4 separate regions of the Homo sapiens genome follow, and regions 2, 3 and 4 are each linked to region 1. Evidence: promoter capture Hi-C in 16 types of primary human blood cells and fetal thymus (Javierre and others, 2016). All regions are on one chromosome and are shown on one strand. The core of a region is centred on a gene start or on the middle of the fragment in contact, and the rest is flanking DNA. Distances in the headings are between cores, read along the strand shown. Region 1 holds the start of SCAT2 (S-phase cancer associated transcript 2). Region 2 overlaps GTSF1 (gametocyte specific factor 1). Region 3 overlaps GPR84-AS1 (GPR84, ZNF385A, ITGA5 and GTSF1 antisense RNA 1). Region 4 overlaps GPR84-AS1 (GPR84, ZNF385A, ITGA5 and GTSF1 antisense RNA 1).

What was found. The method cuts DNA at HindIII sites, captures the fragments that hold promoters and counts their contacts. A CHiCAGO score of 5 or more calls a contact.
Region 2: a contact is called between a fragment that was not itself captured here and the fragment with the promoter of SCAT2 in region 1, in 1 of 17 cell types (monocytes). The highest score is 6.0, in monocytes.
Region 3: a contact is called between a fragment that was not itself captured here and the fragment with the promoter of SCAT2 in region 1, in 2 of 17 cell types (neutrophils and monocytes). The highest score is 7.4, in neutrophils.
Region 4: a contact is called between a fragment that was not itself captured here and the fragment with the promoter of SCAT2 in region 1, in 1 of 17 cell types (neutrophils). The highest score is 5.1, in neutrophils.

The regions. Positions count from the first base shown.
Region 1 is chr12:54,260,499-54,264,196 of GRCh38, forward strand. SCAT2 (S-phase cancer associated transcript 2) reads left to right here and starts at 2,117. Exons shown (of 2, transcript NR_157844.1): 1 at 2,117-2,439. All of the region lies in intron 1 of CBX5 (chromobox 5), which reads right to left. The HindIII fragment of the contact is 3,994 bases long and covers 41-3,698 here.
Region 2 is chr12:54,463,985-54,467,682 of GRCh38, forward strand. It overlaps GTSF1 (gametocyte specific factor 1), which reads right to left. Exons shown (of 9, transcript NM_144594.3): 3 at 1,083-1,183. GPR84-AS1 (GPR84, ZNF385A, ITGA5 and GTSF1 antisense RNA 1) reads left to right here. Exons shown (of 4, transcript NR_120487.1): 4 at 2,857-3,046. Among named protein-coding and RNA genes, the nearest start is that of GTSF1, 7.8 kb to the right of the region's middle. The HindIII fragment of the contact is 515 bases long and covers 1,806-2,320 here.
Region 3 is chr12:54,447,279-54,450,976 of GRCh38, forward strand. The region is part of intron 3 of GPR84-AS1 (GPR84, ZNF385A, ITGA5 and GTSF1 antisense RNA 1); the gene reads left to right. Among named protein-coding and RNA genes, the nearest start is that of GTSF1, 24 kb to the right of the region's middle. RefSeq lists a silencer at 1,163-1,363. The HindIII fragment of the contact is 3,557 bases long and covers 1-3,437 here.
Region 4 is chr12:54,429,509-54,433,206 of GRCh38, forward strand. All of the region lies in intron 3 of GPR84-AS1 (GPR84, ZNF385A, ITGA5 and GTSF1 antisense RNA 1), which reads left to right. Among named protein-coding and RNA genes, the nearest start is that of ITGA5, 12 kb to the left of the region's middle. The HindIII fragment of the contact is 5,263 bases long and covers 1-3,698 here.

The DNA.
Region 1 (3,698 bases), core at 867-3,366:
ATAAAACAAAATGAATTTAGGTGGAAAAAAATTCCTAAGAAGCTTAAAAAAAAAAAAGAGGAGAGCAGTTCTGCCACAACCTAATGGTTGATAAATTTAAACCACTTATAGGTTGCTCTATAATGTTATAAAACAGATTTTTAAATAATTATTCATCACCTGATACATTATTAATATACAACTCTCTGTATCAGTATGTCTCAATACTTGAGAAAAGGAGTACTAGGATAAATAAAAAAGATATATAGAGACTTGAAATACTGTAAGTTTTCCATTCTTCTGGCTCTAAAGAACATTTTAGAGAGCTCCAAAACTCTACTCTGCTTTATAGATGTGGGAACTTTAAAGCCAGAAGTGGCTGCCATAGGAGAGTAAGAAAAAGGGACAATCAAAAGCAAAGAACTCAGTTGAGCCAGGAACAGTGGCTCACACCTGTAATCCCAGCACTTTGGGAAGCCGAGGCAGGTGGATTACCTGAGGTCAGGAGTTCGAGACCAGCCTGACCAACATGGTGACGCCCCATCTCTACTAAAAATGCAAAAATTAGCCAGACATAGTAGCACTTGCCTGTAATCCCAGCTACTTGGGAGGCTAAGGCAGGAGAATCGCTTGAACCTGGGAGGCAGAGGTTGCAGTGAGCCGAGACTGCGCCACTGCACTCCAGCCTGAGCAACAAGAGCGAAACCGTCTCAAAAAAAAAAAAAAAAGAACTCAGTTGAGAAGAAGCACAATGGTGACTATTACGACTGTCAAACAGAAGAAACCATAGGGTGTAAGACCAAAGTAGAAATTTTTTTCTTTTTTCTTTTTTTTTTTTGAGACGGAGTCTCGCTCTGTCACCAGGCTAGAGTGCTGTGGCGCCATCTCGGCTTACTGCAACCTCCAACTCCCTGGTTCAAGGGATTCTCCTGCCTCAGCCTCCCAAGTAGCTGGGATTACAGGCATGTGCCACCACGCCCAGCTAATTTTTGTATTTTTAGCAGAGATGGGGTTTCATCATGTTGGCCAGGATGGTCTCGATTTCCTCATCTTGTGATCCGCCCACCTGGGCCTCCCAAAGTGCTGGGATTACAGGCATGAGACACTGCACCCGGCCAGAAATTTTTTAATTACAAAAGATTTCCTCAGATTTGAATGGACCATCAGCAAACCTCCAATTAAAAACGGCATTTTTCAACTCTTACCTTTTAACTTTTCATAATTAAGGGATATAAAAACAATAACAAACATTTAAATAGGATCCTGACTCTGATTAACTTGCCATGTGTTATCCTGAGTAAATAAATTTTCCATCTAACCCCGGCATCATTTAAACGGGCTAAATAAATCTGTACTACCTGCCCTACGTACCTCCGAGGGAAAAAGTGAGTTTATGTTGAAACCAAAGATCTATTAAGTCCCCCAAAAAGAACCTTCTGTAAAAATATGTCAGGGCTGAATACAACAGCAGAAGAAAATATGTGACCTTCCAAATTCCTAAGCTAGTAAACCATATCACATGCAGTAACTCCTGCAGCTCAACACATTAGTAGATAGCAAGAAAAAGAGGAACAGTGTCTTTGTTAACTAGGCACTGGAAAACGAATAAACCTTCAGAGAACAGGGTAGGTACGTTCTCTCTCAAGGGCAAAATACTTATTCCTTAAAACTCAGACAAACTTTAAAGATGGCAGAATGAAAAGACTAATAGTAACTCTGTGAAGGAATAAGGAACAGGAGAGAATGACAGCAATACTAACATTTTGGTGAAACCTTTCAGAGAAAGAAAAGTGAATTTAATGAGGAAAGAGACAAAAATATTCTGGTGTCCACCCCTCCCCACAAAACATCAGAAAATAAAGATTGAGTTCAATTCCCTCCTTTCCACCCTTAAGAACTGCCTAAAGGGCACATGGGCCGAGGTCCTTTTCTTTTTGGGAAATGGGTTTTGTAACCACTGACAAATCGAATTGGGCCTGATGCCAGGAGTCAGAGTACAACCATAATATTCTTTAAAGGATGGCATGCAATTGTCTTGTAAATCTCCTAGACAGTCACAGATCAGAAGCTGGCAAGGATGACGACATAGTTCTGATGGAATGTGTCTTATCTTAACCTTGAAGTTACAGATCTGCTCAGGAGCAGCAGTAAGAAATGAGAAATGCACTCAGACATCGGAGGGGACATAATTCTCTTTTAGACAGTGTGACCCGGAGTATTAGGGTCAAATGAAACACAAAGCCAGTCAAACAATTTAAGGGCTAGAGCCTAGACCAGATAAAGCATCAAGACTGGTGGTTCACACTGAGCTTAGGAGGAGGGAGCTTTCCAGCATGAGAAATGAGACATGGCTGGCAGGATGATGGAGTGATTAAGATAGAATCCCAATACCATGACAGAGGAAAAGAAGATGAGCCTCTGAACACAACCTTATCCTTGTGGAAATCTCCAAGGGAAAGGGTGAGTAGCTTCTCAAATTTCTGGAGTCTTTCAGGCATAACAGCTCTCAGCCTTCTCTCTTAAATATACATAGGAACTATCTGGTAAAGCTACCAATAACTATAGATTACAGCACCTAAGGCCCATTGAGATGAGAAAAGAGGCTGGGCGCGGTGGCTCACGCCTGTAATCCCAGCACTTTGGTAGGCCGAGGCGGGCAGATCTCCTGAGGTCAGGAGTTCCAGACCAACCTGGCCAACATGGTGAAACCCTGTCTCTACTAAAAATACAAAAATTAGCCAGGTGTGGTGGCAGGCACCTGTTATCTCAGCTACTTGGGAGGCTGAGGCAGGAGAATCACTTGAACCCAGAAGATGGAGGTTGCAGTGAGCCGAGATCAAGCCATTGCACTCCAGCCTGGACAACAAGGGCAAAACTCCGTCTCAAAAAAAAACCAAACAAAAAACTTATCAGTCCTCAGCAATTACAGAGAGGGCATCACAAGCAAGCTAGGGCAACCCAGAAAAACAAGAGGTAGGCCGGCACAGCGGCTCTCGCCTGTAATCCCAGCACTTTGGGAAGCCAAGGCAGGTGGATCATGAGGTCAGGAGTTTGAGACCAGCCTGGCCAACATGGTGAAACCCCGTCTCTACTAAAGACACAAAAAAATTAGTCAGGCGTGGTGTAATCCCAGCTACTCGGGAGGCTGAGGCAGTTACGCACCTGTAATCCCAGCTACTCAGGAGGGTGAGGCAGGAGAATCGCTTAAACGGGAGGCGGAGGTTGCAGTGAGCTGAGATCGCGCCACTGCACTCCAGCCTGGGCAACAGGGTAAGACTCTATCTCAAAAAAAAAAAAAAAAAAAAAGAAAAGAAAAAAGAAAAAAAAAGGCCAGGCGCAGTGGCTCACGAGGTCAGGAGATTGAGACCATCCTGGCTAACATGGTGAAACCCTGTCTCTACTAAAAATACAAAAAATTAGCCAGATGTGGTGGCGGGAGCCTGTAGTCCCAGCTACTGGGGAGGCTGAGGCAAAAGAATGGTGTGAACCCAGGAGGCGGGGCTTGCAGTGAGCCGAGATCGCACCACTGCACTCCAGCCTGGGAGACAGCGTGAGACTCCGTCTCAAATAAAAAAGAGGTAATGGTTAGCCCTCAGCATTGACCGTTTAATGCTGGAAGAACCCACATAGGGTCCCTGGTATCTGTCTGCTTTGTCCAGTTCAGGTTCTACTCTCATCCCTCCAGTCATTTCTTTTTTGAGACAGGGCCTCGTTCTGTT
Region 2 (3,698 bases), core at 813-3,312, 200 kb after region 1:
GCAAATATACCAGCAATTAAGAAATTTATTAGGAAAAAAAAGATATGTCATAAATGAAACTCGGAAAAGTAAAAATAATATGAAGTAGGGAGAAGTCTGGAAAAATATATAGGTGTGAGAAACTTGCAGGCATCGCCGTCATTTTCATAAGTGGTATCAGGCATTCAATACAAAGGTTTTGTGGCCAAAGATTAAGAACATTAGAAGAAGGGAATTATGATAGTGTCTTTTTTACCACTTGACTCCATTTGGGAAATGTTTGAGAGCCTAGAGGGGACAATGTTGTAGTGGTATCTGCTGATCCATACTGTCCAGGTTTAATGTTAAGGGATCCTTGCTCTCGAGATTAAAAGGAGCTGGAGAAATAACAAAGATACATGATGTTTCCAGGATTACAAGCACTTTTTAAAGGATGTTAAAGCTGAATTGTATGCAGTTTGGATTAAATACCTCAATTGTTTCCCAAGCATAAATTCTAGCAGAATTTTGGCTTCTGTATCAGAATTCTAACAACATTGTCAAAATGTCTCATTTAAGGTAGCATGAAAGTAGTTTATATCAGCTAAGTCTATACAAGAGTGACCAGAAAAAAAATCGTTATTTATTATTTTTTTAAAGATGTTTACTGTTGAAACTTGGAGATACAGTTATTTTTAGGAATAATTTTTCTTGGGCTAACTTCTAGCTGTTCAAGCTCTAAAATTTCTAAACAAAATAATCAGAAAAAGTGAGTTATAGCACTCAATCATTGTTAGGCTCATGAATACATCAAATTTAGAAGATAGGCAGGATTTCTCATTGTTAGCCAAAATTAGTCTGTTTTACAAAGGGTGAGAAGACTCTAGAGATGCTGTTTATAAAGGGTTCTTTGTCACTAGTTAATGGGAAGAAAACCAAAACAAGAAAAAATTTATCCTAAGGAATGAACAAATGCCTTTCTATAAATGTTGGTATTTAAGAGAGGTAGATTCCCAAAACAATTCTGGCAATCAATTAAAACATGATAAAATTATTTGATATTTATAAAATATGGCCTTTTAAAAGAACTCAGGAGGGTGTTAGAGGGCAAATTATGACCCTACCTTTCTGCACTTGATAAGATGATAAGGAAACCTGCAAGCCCTGATTTGATGGTTTTTGTCATAGGGGCATTGCAATAGCTTCTCAGGGTCCAGGGAGTCGGCTGAAAGACAGAAGTGTTTCAGTAGGTAAAACGATAATAGGCCCTTGTAAAACTACAGCATTCCAGGCACACTGGATTTTTTCAAGAGACTCTGTAATAATAGAACAATATAGTCTAAAGAAAACTTGGATTAAAAAAAAAGGGTGACTACACTTTTAAAATATTTCTGAATCTTAGTAAGTTCAGCAGAACCAGAAATCTCAGGGTGAAGTCTCAGTTTCATATTGAACTGAACATATTGTTTTTGTTGCTGGTTACTCTTATTATAAAACAAAAAGTTAAATAAAATGTCATCCTCTTTTCCTTTTCTAAAAGTGCTAATTCAGGGTTATTCCTATTCTCTAGCTAGTCTATCCAGAGCCTCCCAACCAGTATGCTGCAGTTGAAATGGATTTCTAGTGTGCTAATACACTGATTTGGGGGCCCACAACTAGTTCAAGTCATCCCCTACCCCCCATTTCCACAGGCAAGTTGGGGGTAGTAATAGCAAGTAATAGTAATACTTGCTATTACTAGTATCTAGATGAAGATACTAGTAATAGCATCTTCATCTATTACTAGTATCCTGTGACATGAAAAAAGTTGGTAAGCACTGCCCTATATCAGTTATATGTTTTATGGAAGCTTGAAAAATATTAGTGGATAGATTTCTTTTTCATCTGTCTACTTTAACTTACTCCTATAAGTAGTTCCTAATCTTGGTTACTCTAATTACCTCTCAAATGAAACCAATACTGTTATCAGACAGGTAGTTTTTACTTTTCATATTTTGGAACACATGTGAGAACAAAACAGAGAATTCTTTAATCTAGTGACTACTACATTAGCCAGCTAAAAAAATAGGAACAATGTGCAAAAACAGAACCTTCTGAGGTTAAGACAACTGCAGACATATGGAACTGCTGTGTGAAAGAAAGCCCCTAACCTATAAAATGCTATTTAAAACAACCCTTAGGCTATACAAGATGACCAGGCTGTGCCCCAAATTTTAACAAGCCTGGTTAAGGAAGGGAAATTAAATGGTTAAGCACATTCTGGTATATTATGAAGACAAGAGGCAACCTAATAAATTGCTCTTGCCACCCCTGAAGGCAATGATAAAAGTGAAATAAGATAAACAATTCACATTTGATAAGAAGCTTATAAACCAGGAGACTGCTAGGAAAATCAGAAGCCAGTGGGGAATTGAAACAGACAGTTTCACTGGAAGAGTGGTAAACATGGAATAAATTGCCAACCATGATCGTGATGCAAATGAGCCAGAAAGGTGACTTGAAGGACAGAATGAATAGGAAGGAAAAGTCTTAAAGGACAGGCAGGCTTATTATGCTAACCAGGCTCTTCTTGACCAGCAATGTTTCATATTTCCGAAGCTTCAGGACAACCAGGGAGAATTTACAGATGAAATTCTTGTTAGTTTCCCCTGATTTAATCCATTCCCATCACTAGCAAATGTTAGGCCATGTCAGCAGCTGATAGACTGGATGGTACCTTATGATTCATATATATTATACTGCCCATATAGTAGCATATGTCAGAGTTGATAATGAGAGCTTCTCATTGTAATGCTTTACTTCCTGGTCTCCAGCACTTTAGGTCAACTTTAACCTGGCTTTCTAGATTAAAAAAATTTTTTTGATTTAAAAATCTTTTTTTTTTTTTTTTTTTGACAGAGTCTTATTCTGTTGCCCAGGCTGGAGTGAAGTGGCGCGATCTCGGCCCACTGCAACCTTCACCTCCCGAGTTCGAGCGATTCTTGTGCCTCAGCCCCCGGAGTAGCTGGGACAAAAATCTTTAACTGTGATTAAAAACACATATAAAATTTACCATGTTAATGAATTTTAAGTATACAGTTCAGTAGTGTTAAGCATTAATATATTCCTTATTGTTGTGCAACTAGTCTCCAAAAGTTTTTTGTTTTACTAAACTGAAACTCTATACCCATTAACCATCAGCTCTCCATTCCCCACTGCCCCCAGCTCCTGGCAACCACCATTACTTTTTGTTTTGGTGAGTCTGACTAGATACATCATATATGTGAAATCACAGTCTTTTGCTTTTTGTGACTAGCCTATTTCACTTAGCCTAAGGTCCTCAAGGTTTATCCGTGTTATAACATGTGACAGAATTTCCTGTGTGTTTTTTTTGTTTTTTGTTTTTTTTTTTTGAGACGGAGTCTCACTGTTATCCAGGCTGGAGTGCAGTTGCACGATCTTGGCTCACTGCAACCTCCACCGCCTGGGTTCATGTGGTTCTCCTGCCTCAGACTCTTGAGTAGCTGGGATTACAGGCATCCACCACCAAGCTCAGCTAATTTTTGTATTTTTAGTAGAGACGGGGTTTCATCATGTTGGTCAGGTTGGTCTTGAACTCCTGACCTCAGGTGATCCACCTGCCTCGGCCTCCCCAAGTGCTGGGATTACAGGTGTGAGCCACCACATTCGGCCATTTCCTTTATCTTCTGTCTTGCAATTTGCTTTTTTTTCTTTTCACTTAATGTATCTTGGAGTTCCTT
Region 3 (3,698 bases), core at 409-2,908, 190 kb after region 1:
GGGTTCAAGCAATTCTCATGTCTCAGCCTCCTGAGTAGCTGGGATTACAGGCACCCACCACCACGCCTGGATAATTTTTGTGTATTTTTCGTAGAGACGGGGCTTCACCGTGTTGGTCAGGCTGGTCTTGAACTCCTGACCTCAGGTGATCCACTTGCCTCGGCCTCCCAAAGTGCTGGGATTACAGGTGTGAGCCACCGTGCCCGGCCTGATTAGCAGTTTCTTTTTTGAGGCAGGATCTCACTCTCTCACCCAGGCTGGAGTGCAGTAGTAAGATCTCGGTTTACTGAAACCTCCGTTTCCTGAGCTCAGGCAATCCTTCCATTTCAGCCTCTTGAGTAGCTGGGACTGCAGGCGCATGCCACCATACCCCAGCTAATTTTTGTATTTTTAGTGGAGACAGGGTTTCACTATGTTGCCCAGGTTGGTCTCCAACTCCTGGGCTCAAGCAATTTGCCCACCTTGGCCTCCCAAAGTGCTGGTATTACAGGTGTGAGCCACCACGACTGGCCTCCCTTAGCAGTCTTTAGGAATCATTTCTGGAAGTCCAGTCTAGAGTTTGTTTCTTCAGCCTTCCCCAGAATTCTGTGATCCATCCATTTGATGCCCTAGTAATAAGTCCTTTACTGCTTAATCTAGCTAGAATCGATTCTGTTCTCTGCAACCAAACCCTGATTAATATGGAGAACAGGGTATATATTTTAAAAAATAAACATAAACATTTTCATAGCTGAAAGAGTTAAGGAAAGAGTAGAGTTAATTTAAAGAGAAGAGGGTTGGGTATGGTGGCTCACACCTGTAATCCCAACACTCTGGGAGGCTGAGATGGGAGGATCACGTGAGGCCAGGAGTTTGAGACCAGCCTGGGCAACATAGTGAGATCCCATCTCTACCAAAAAAAAAAAAGAAAAAAAAAAAAGAAAGAAAGACCAGTCATGGAAGGTGGGAAGATTGCTTGAGCCCAGGAGTTTGAGGTTGCAATGAAGTATGATAGCACCCCTACACTCCAGCCTGGGTGACAGAGTGTGGCCCTATCTCAAAGAAAAAAAAGCTAAAGAGGAGAGAGGAATTGACTTATGGAAGATATTGGAGGATAGGAGAAGCTCAGTGTAGTAGACTGCCTTCAAGACAGCCCCCCATTGATTCTTGCCTCCTGGCATTCATGTTCCTGTAAAGTCCCCTCCCACAATGAAAAGGGCTCACCAGTGTAACCAAAAGCATATTGTGAAATGATGTAGCGTGACTTCTGAAGTTAGGTCATAAAATAATTTACAGCTTCCACCTTGCTCTTAAATTGCCCACCATGGGGGAAGTCAGTTGACATGTTGTAAGGATACTCGCAGGCTTTGTAGAGTCCCGCATGGGGAGCAACTGAGGCCTTGAATTGCCAGGCATGTAAGTGAGCCACTTAAGAAGCAAATCGTCCCACCTCAGTCAAGTCTTCAGAAATGGCAGCCCTGGCTGACTCTTTCTGTTTTTTTTTAGACAGAGTCTCGCTCTGTCGCCCAGGCTGGAGTGCAGTGGTACGATCTCAGCTCACTGCAACCTCCACCTCCTGGGTTCAAGCAATTCTTCTGCCTCAGCCTCCCAAGTGGCTGGGATTACAGGTGCATGCCACTATCCCTGGCCAGTTTTTGTATTTTTAGTAGAGACAGGGTCTCACCATGTTGGCCAGGCTAGTCTCAAACTCCTGACCTCAAGTGATCTGCCCACTTTGGCCTCCCAAAGTGCTGGGATGCGCGATTACAGGTGTGAGCCACTGTGCCCAGCCCTGGCTGACTCTTGACTGCATCTACATGAAAGACCCCAAACCAGGATTACTCAGCTAAGTAACTCCCAAATTCCTTATCCACAGACATTATGAGAGTAATGTTTATTATTGTTTTAATACACTATGTTTTGGGGAAATTGGTTATGTAGCAATAGATAATACAATGTGATGCAGTACAAAGTTCACAGACAAAGTTAGCCTTGTAGAGGAAGTATACTTTTTTTTTTTTTTGAGACAGTCTTGCTCTGTTGCCCAGGCTGCAGTGCAGTGGCACCATCTTGGCTCACTGCAACCTCTGCCTTCCAGGTTCAAGCGATTCTCCTGCCTCAACCTCCCAAATAGCTGGGATTACAGGCATGCACCACCACGCCTAGCTAATTTTTTGTATTTTTAGTAGAGATGGGGGTCTCACTATGTTGGCCAGGCTGGTCTCGAACTCCTGACCTCAAGTGATCCGCCTGCCTTGGCCTCCCAAAGTGCTAGGATTACAGTCGTGAGCAACCGTGCCCAGCCAGAAGTATACTGAGATAAAGGAAAAAGAGGTGCTATAAGAGTTAAAGAGTAAGTTAAGGTCAATGACCAGTACCTTCTCAAGGAAATCAAGACCAGGTGTGGTGGCTCATGCCTGTAATCCCAGTACTTTGGGAGGCTGAGGTTGAGGATCATTTGAGGTCAGGAGTTTGAGACTAGCCTGGGCAATATACTAAGACCACATCTCTAAAAATTCTTTTTAAAAAGTAGCTGAGTATGGTGGCACACACCTGTAGCTCTAGCTACTTGGGAGGATGGCTTGAGCCCAGGAGTTCAAAAAAGTTGGAGGTAAAGTCAATGTCATCTCCTGATAGTGGAGGATGGAAAGTAGGGACTACGAAGTTGAGAATAGTAAAAGGGCTGCAACGGCCACCAGGTAAATCTGAAAGTCAAACAGGAATGAGTGCCCGAGTTTAGAAATCTGTATCTGCAGTGGAGTTAGGTGGCATAGTTATATGATTTTCTGTAACTATGCTTGATAACCTAGCAGGAATAGAGTAAAAGATGGTGGGCTTCTCTCAACTTGGGAATTGGTAAAGCAGAGACAGAACAATAGCGGGGGTTAAGGATGCTGGTTTAGGCTACTGAAGTACTGGATCATGGAGTCTAAACTGGCAGATGTGGAAATGAGTTCAGGAGGAAACTCATAGCCTGAGAGAATGAGAAGTTGAGTGTAGAATCAATATTTAGGGAAGAATCGTATAAAAGCAGTAAATTAGAAATCTGAAGTCCCAGGTTATGGTCATAGCTCACTACTAACAAGCTGTGCAAGGATCAAATTTTCAGGGCCTGTTTTTTTTTCCCTCCTGGGTTAAAATACATAAAATGCTAAGTAAGAACAGTAACTTGCCTATAGTAAGAACTTTGCAACTCTTTTAACAATTATTCTTAAGTGTTTTAAAATTATATAGTATTTAATACACACTTGTGAAGCATAATAAACACCAACAAACTCACCATCCAACTTACCAACAGACTACTACTAATATCCTGTGTTTCTTCCTGGTCCCCTCATCCTGGCCTCTTCCCTAGGGATTACCACTATATTGAACTTTGTGTTTATCGTTCTATTTCCTTTTAAAAAACTGTCATGTTTCACACTTGTATAGGGCCTGTTTCTTCATGTGTAAGATGAAGCTTTGGATCAGGTACTCTCTAAGCTCCCTTTCAGTTTTTTTTTTTTTTTTTTTTTGAGATGGAGTCTGGCTCTGTCGCCCAGGCTGGAGTGCAGTGGTGTGATCTCAGCTCACTGCAAGCTCTGCCTCCCGGGTTCACGCCATTCCCTGCCTCAGCCTCCTGAGTAGCTGGGACTACAGGCACCCACCACCACGCCCGGCTAATTTTTTGTATTTTTAGTAGAGACGGGGTTTCACCGTGTTAGCCAGGATGGTCTCGA
Region 4 (3,698 bases), core at 307-2,806, 170 kb after region 1:
TATAGTATGTGTTCTAAGAGCTTTATATGAATTAACTTATTTAATTGGCACTGCCCCTTTATCAGGGAGGTACTATTGACCTATTTTATAAGATGAGGAAACTGAGGCACAGACTTGCCCAAGGTAAGCAGAAGAGCTGGGATTCAAACCCAAGCAATCTAGCTTTACTTTAGGAAAGACCAGCCCACTACGTTTATCTTTGGAATGCTTGAGCCTCACTGGCAAAGGCAAAAGGAATGCCTTTATATGGGGTGGTCATGCTCACAGAAGCTGCTGGTCAAGTGTACCCCACTTTGGACCTAGGTGTTGGATTCAGACTAAACACTTTCAAAGAAAGCCATTGACCCATTCTTCTTTTTCTTTTTAAACTAATTGTTTGTAGGAACGGGGTCTCACTATGTTTGCCCAGGCTGGTCTCGAACTCCTCGGCTCAAGTGATCCTCCTGCCTTGGCCTCCTAAAGTGTTGGGATTACAGGAATGAGCCACTGCACTCAGCAACAAATTCATTTTTTAAAAACAAATCTAGGCAGGGCGTGGTGGCTCACGCCTGTAATCCCAGCACTTTTGGAGGCCAAGGCGGGCGGATTGCCTGATATCAGGAGTTTGAGACCAGCCTGGGCGACATGGTGAAACCTCGTCTCTACTAAAATACAAAAAATTAGCTGGGCATGGTGGCACATGCCTGTAATCCCAGCCGCTTAAGGAGGCTGAGGCACAAGAATTGCTTGAACCTGGGAGGGAGAGGTTGCCGTGAGCCAAGATCATGCCACTGCACTCTAGCCTGGGCGAAAGAGTAAGACTCTGTCTCAAAAAAACAAAACAAAAAACAAAAAAACCCCAAATCTATTGATCTATTGTTGAATGATATGCAAGTGACATACAGGTTAGCATAGAAGCCATCTAAGTGTGACTGGAGGTGGAGGAAGGGAGGAATGCAAGAAGGGGCAGAAATAAGAATTAGAGAAGACCCAGGAAAATATGGAAGAAGCCAGTAAGCCTGTATGTAGAAGGACTTCCTTGAGCGTTTCTCCAGCTTTTGCTCATGTTTTAGGCAGTTAAAAATAGTGATTTATTCTACTCACTGAGAGAGAGAAAGGAAGAAGGGGATGAGAATTCTTTTACCCTTGAAAGCACACAGGGACTCCCTGGGCTGGATCCAGGTACTTGACTTGGAAGTTCCAACTAGAGCAAGTCTGCCCTTCTTTGGCTCCCAATTTTGTCTTTCCTAAATCAAAGGAATTGGGCTAGGTGATCCTTGAGGTTCCATCTTACCCCAACACATTCAGATTCTCATACAGGAACTCAGGGGAAAACCAGGGTTGCGGCTGGAGTCCTTGTGTGGGGGCCAGGAATAAACAAATAATTGGTAACCAGGATGAGCTCAGTGATCTAGGGGAAAGGCTCTGTAGGGGGTGATGGGAAGGAAGCCAGGAAAGGAGAGACCAGACCCCAGAAAACTGAATGGAGCATGGACTCATTCATTCATGCAACCATGTACCTTCAGAAACTAAAACCTAGGGGCCGGGCGCGGTGGTTCACACCTGTAATCCCAGCACTTTGGGAGGCTGAGGCGGGTGGATCACGAGGTCAGGAGTACAAGACCAGCCTGGCCAACATGGTGAAACCCCGTCTCTACTAAAAATACAAAAATCAGCTGGGTGTGGTGGCGCGCGCCTGTAATCCCAGCTACTCGGGAGCCTGAGGCAGAGAATCACTTGAACCCAGGAGGCACAGGTTGCAGTGAGCCGAGATTGCACCACTGCATTCCAGCCTGGGTGACAGAGCGAGACTCCGTCTCAAAAAAAAAAAAGAAGAAGAAGAAAAAAAAAGAAACTAAAACCTAGGAATCTGAGCTTCCCATTCAACAAGGTTATAATGAGCCCATGGGCTCTGGATGTCTAGGAAGGGCAAACTCCCAGGTCCCTCCCCAATTTTTGAGGTATTACAGGAAAAAACAGCTAATAGTTATCAAGTACCAGGTATAGATCTAAGCATTTTACATATGCGACCTCATTTAACCTCAAAATAATACTATGAAGCAGCATTTTATATCTTTCAAATTGATTTCTTCATTTAATCCTCCTCAACTGCCCTCTAAAGTTAACAAGGGCATTTGACTGATGAGGAATCTTTGAAAGTGGGAAAAGATGAAACTAGATTTCTAGTAGAATTTTCTAAGTGGTAATGGTGGGAGCCCCTGCAAGGAGTTAGAGGATTCTCACTTCCTAGCAAGATCTTTTCTGACTCTAGGCTTCCAGATTGTGGGGGGTGGAGTGTGCTTTCCAGATCTTGATGAATGGCAGATAAAGATATGCATCAAGTTACTGATCAGGAGCAAGAAAATGGCACTCTGGTGTCTTTGAGAATGTTTCTAAGAAGTCTCTAGAGATAGAAACAATCACAGGATTGAGGATTACCTTAAATCTGCAAAGAGACCTTGACAGGCCAGAGGCAGAATTCTGAGTGAGTTAGCTCCCCTTTGTTTCTACCAACTGCTGGTCAGCAGCAGGAGAGAAGGAAATTAGATATATGGAGGGATTTATCTATTGTTTGGGGCTGATAGGAGAATCCTGCCTCCTGTGGGTAATAGTGAAGTTAATTCTTCTATCACTGTAATCAGCAGGAGTTAGAGGTGTGAGTGGTAGTGTTAGTGGAGAGGGGGGATGGTAGTGAGGATGGGCTTGCCTGGAAGACCTCTGACCAGCTAGAAGAGCCTGAGATTTTGAGGGGGAGGAGATAATTTGCCAGACGGGTACTTGCGGAGAGGGTCCAAGTGTTTGGGCTCCAGCCTGGGGTGAAGTCAGAGACATAAATCACACCTTCCAACTGCCTGTTTCCGCTTTGAGCTCAGTTCCCAGCCAAAAGCCCAGCTAGCCTGCCAGAGGAGTAAGCGTGTGGATGGGGGAGGGGCCAAAGAGCTGGAAGCTGGTGATTGGGAATGGGCGTCATCAGCTGGGAATCTGGTCTCATCAGGGTCATGAAATGGACTCAATGCCAGGGCTGGTAGAGCAGGGAGCCCAAGGATCTCAACAGAACTGCTCTGTAGATACCTCATCCCACGTGAGACACACCCACAACCACACCCTGTTTGCTGAATTCTCCTCTCCCACACATAAAAACCACTGGGACGTGCCTGGAGGCACAGACACCTACATAGACACACCCCCCACCCCCATCCAGCTGTTGCTCACTTGTGCCAGAAAACTCTACGTCTCCTGGATGAGTAGACCTAGGAGAAATGAGTGCGGGTTGAGAGATAAGGAGGATCCTGGATCTTCATTAAGATCTGGAAACACTTTTCTCTAGTAATCTTAAAGCCCTGTTCTGTGTCATCTTTTTGCCTTTCCCCACTGGGGATGGGTCTGGGTGATTTCCCTTCTCACTTTAGGAGAACCTCAGTGGTCTGTTGTCCTCTTGGTGGGCAGTGCCTGCTAATCACAGTGATGGCAGAGCAGGAGGCAAGAGATTGAGTGTGCATGTTGGGCGGGGTAGGTGTTTGAGGGCAGGAAATCCAGAAAGCCACTCAGACAATGGCCTTTTCCGCACGCTTGGGTCCAGGCTGCAGGCTGCTGGATCCTGTCTGACCCTAACAGCAGCTCCTATTTTTCCCTCTGGTTAGCTTCCCACTCAATGCTCATTTCGGGGCATATAGGAGAGGCAGGATTCCTTTGGAGGAAAGGTATCCTGTTCATCAGCC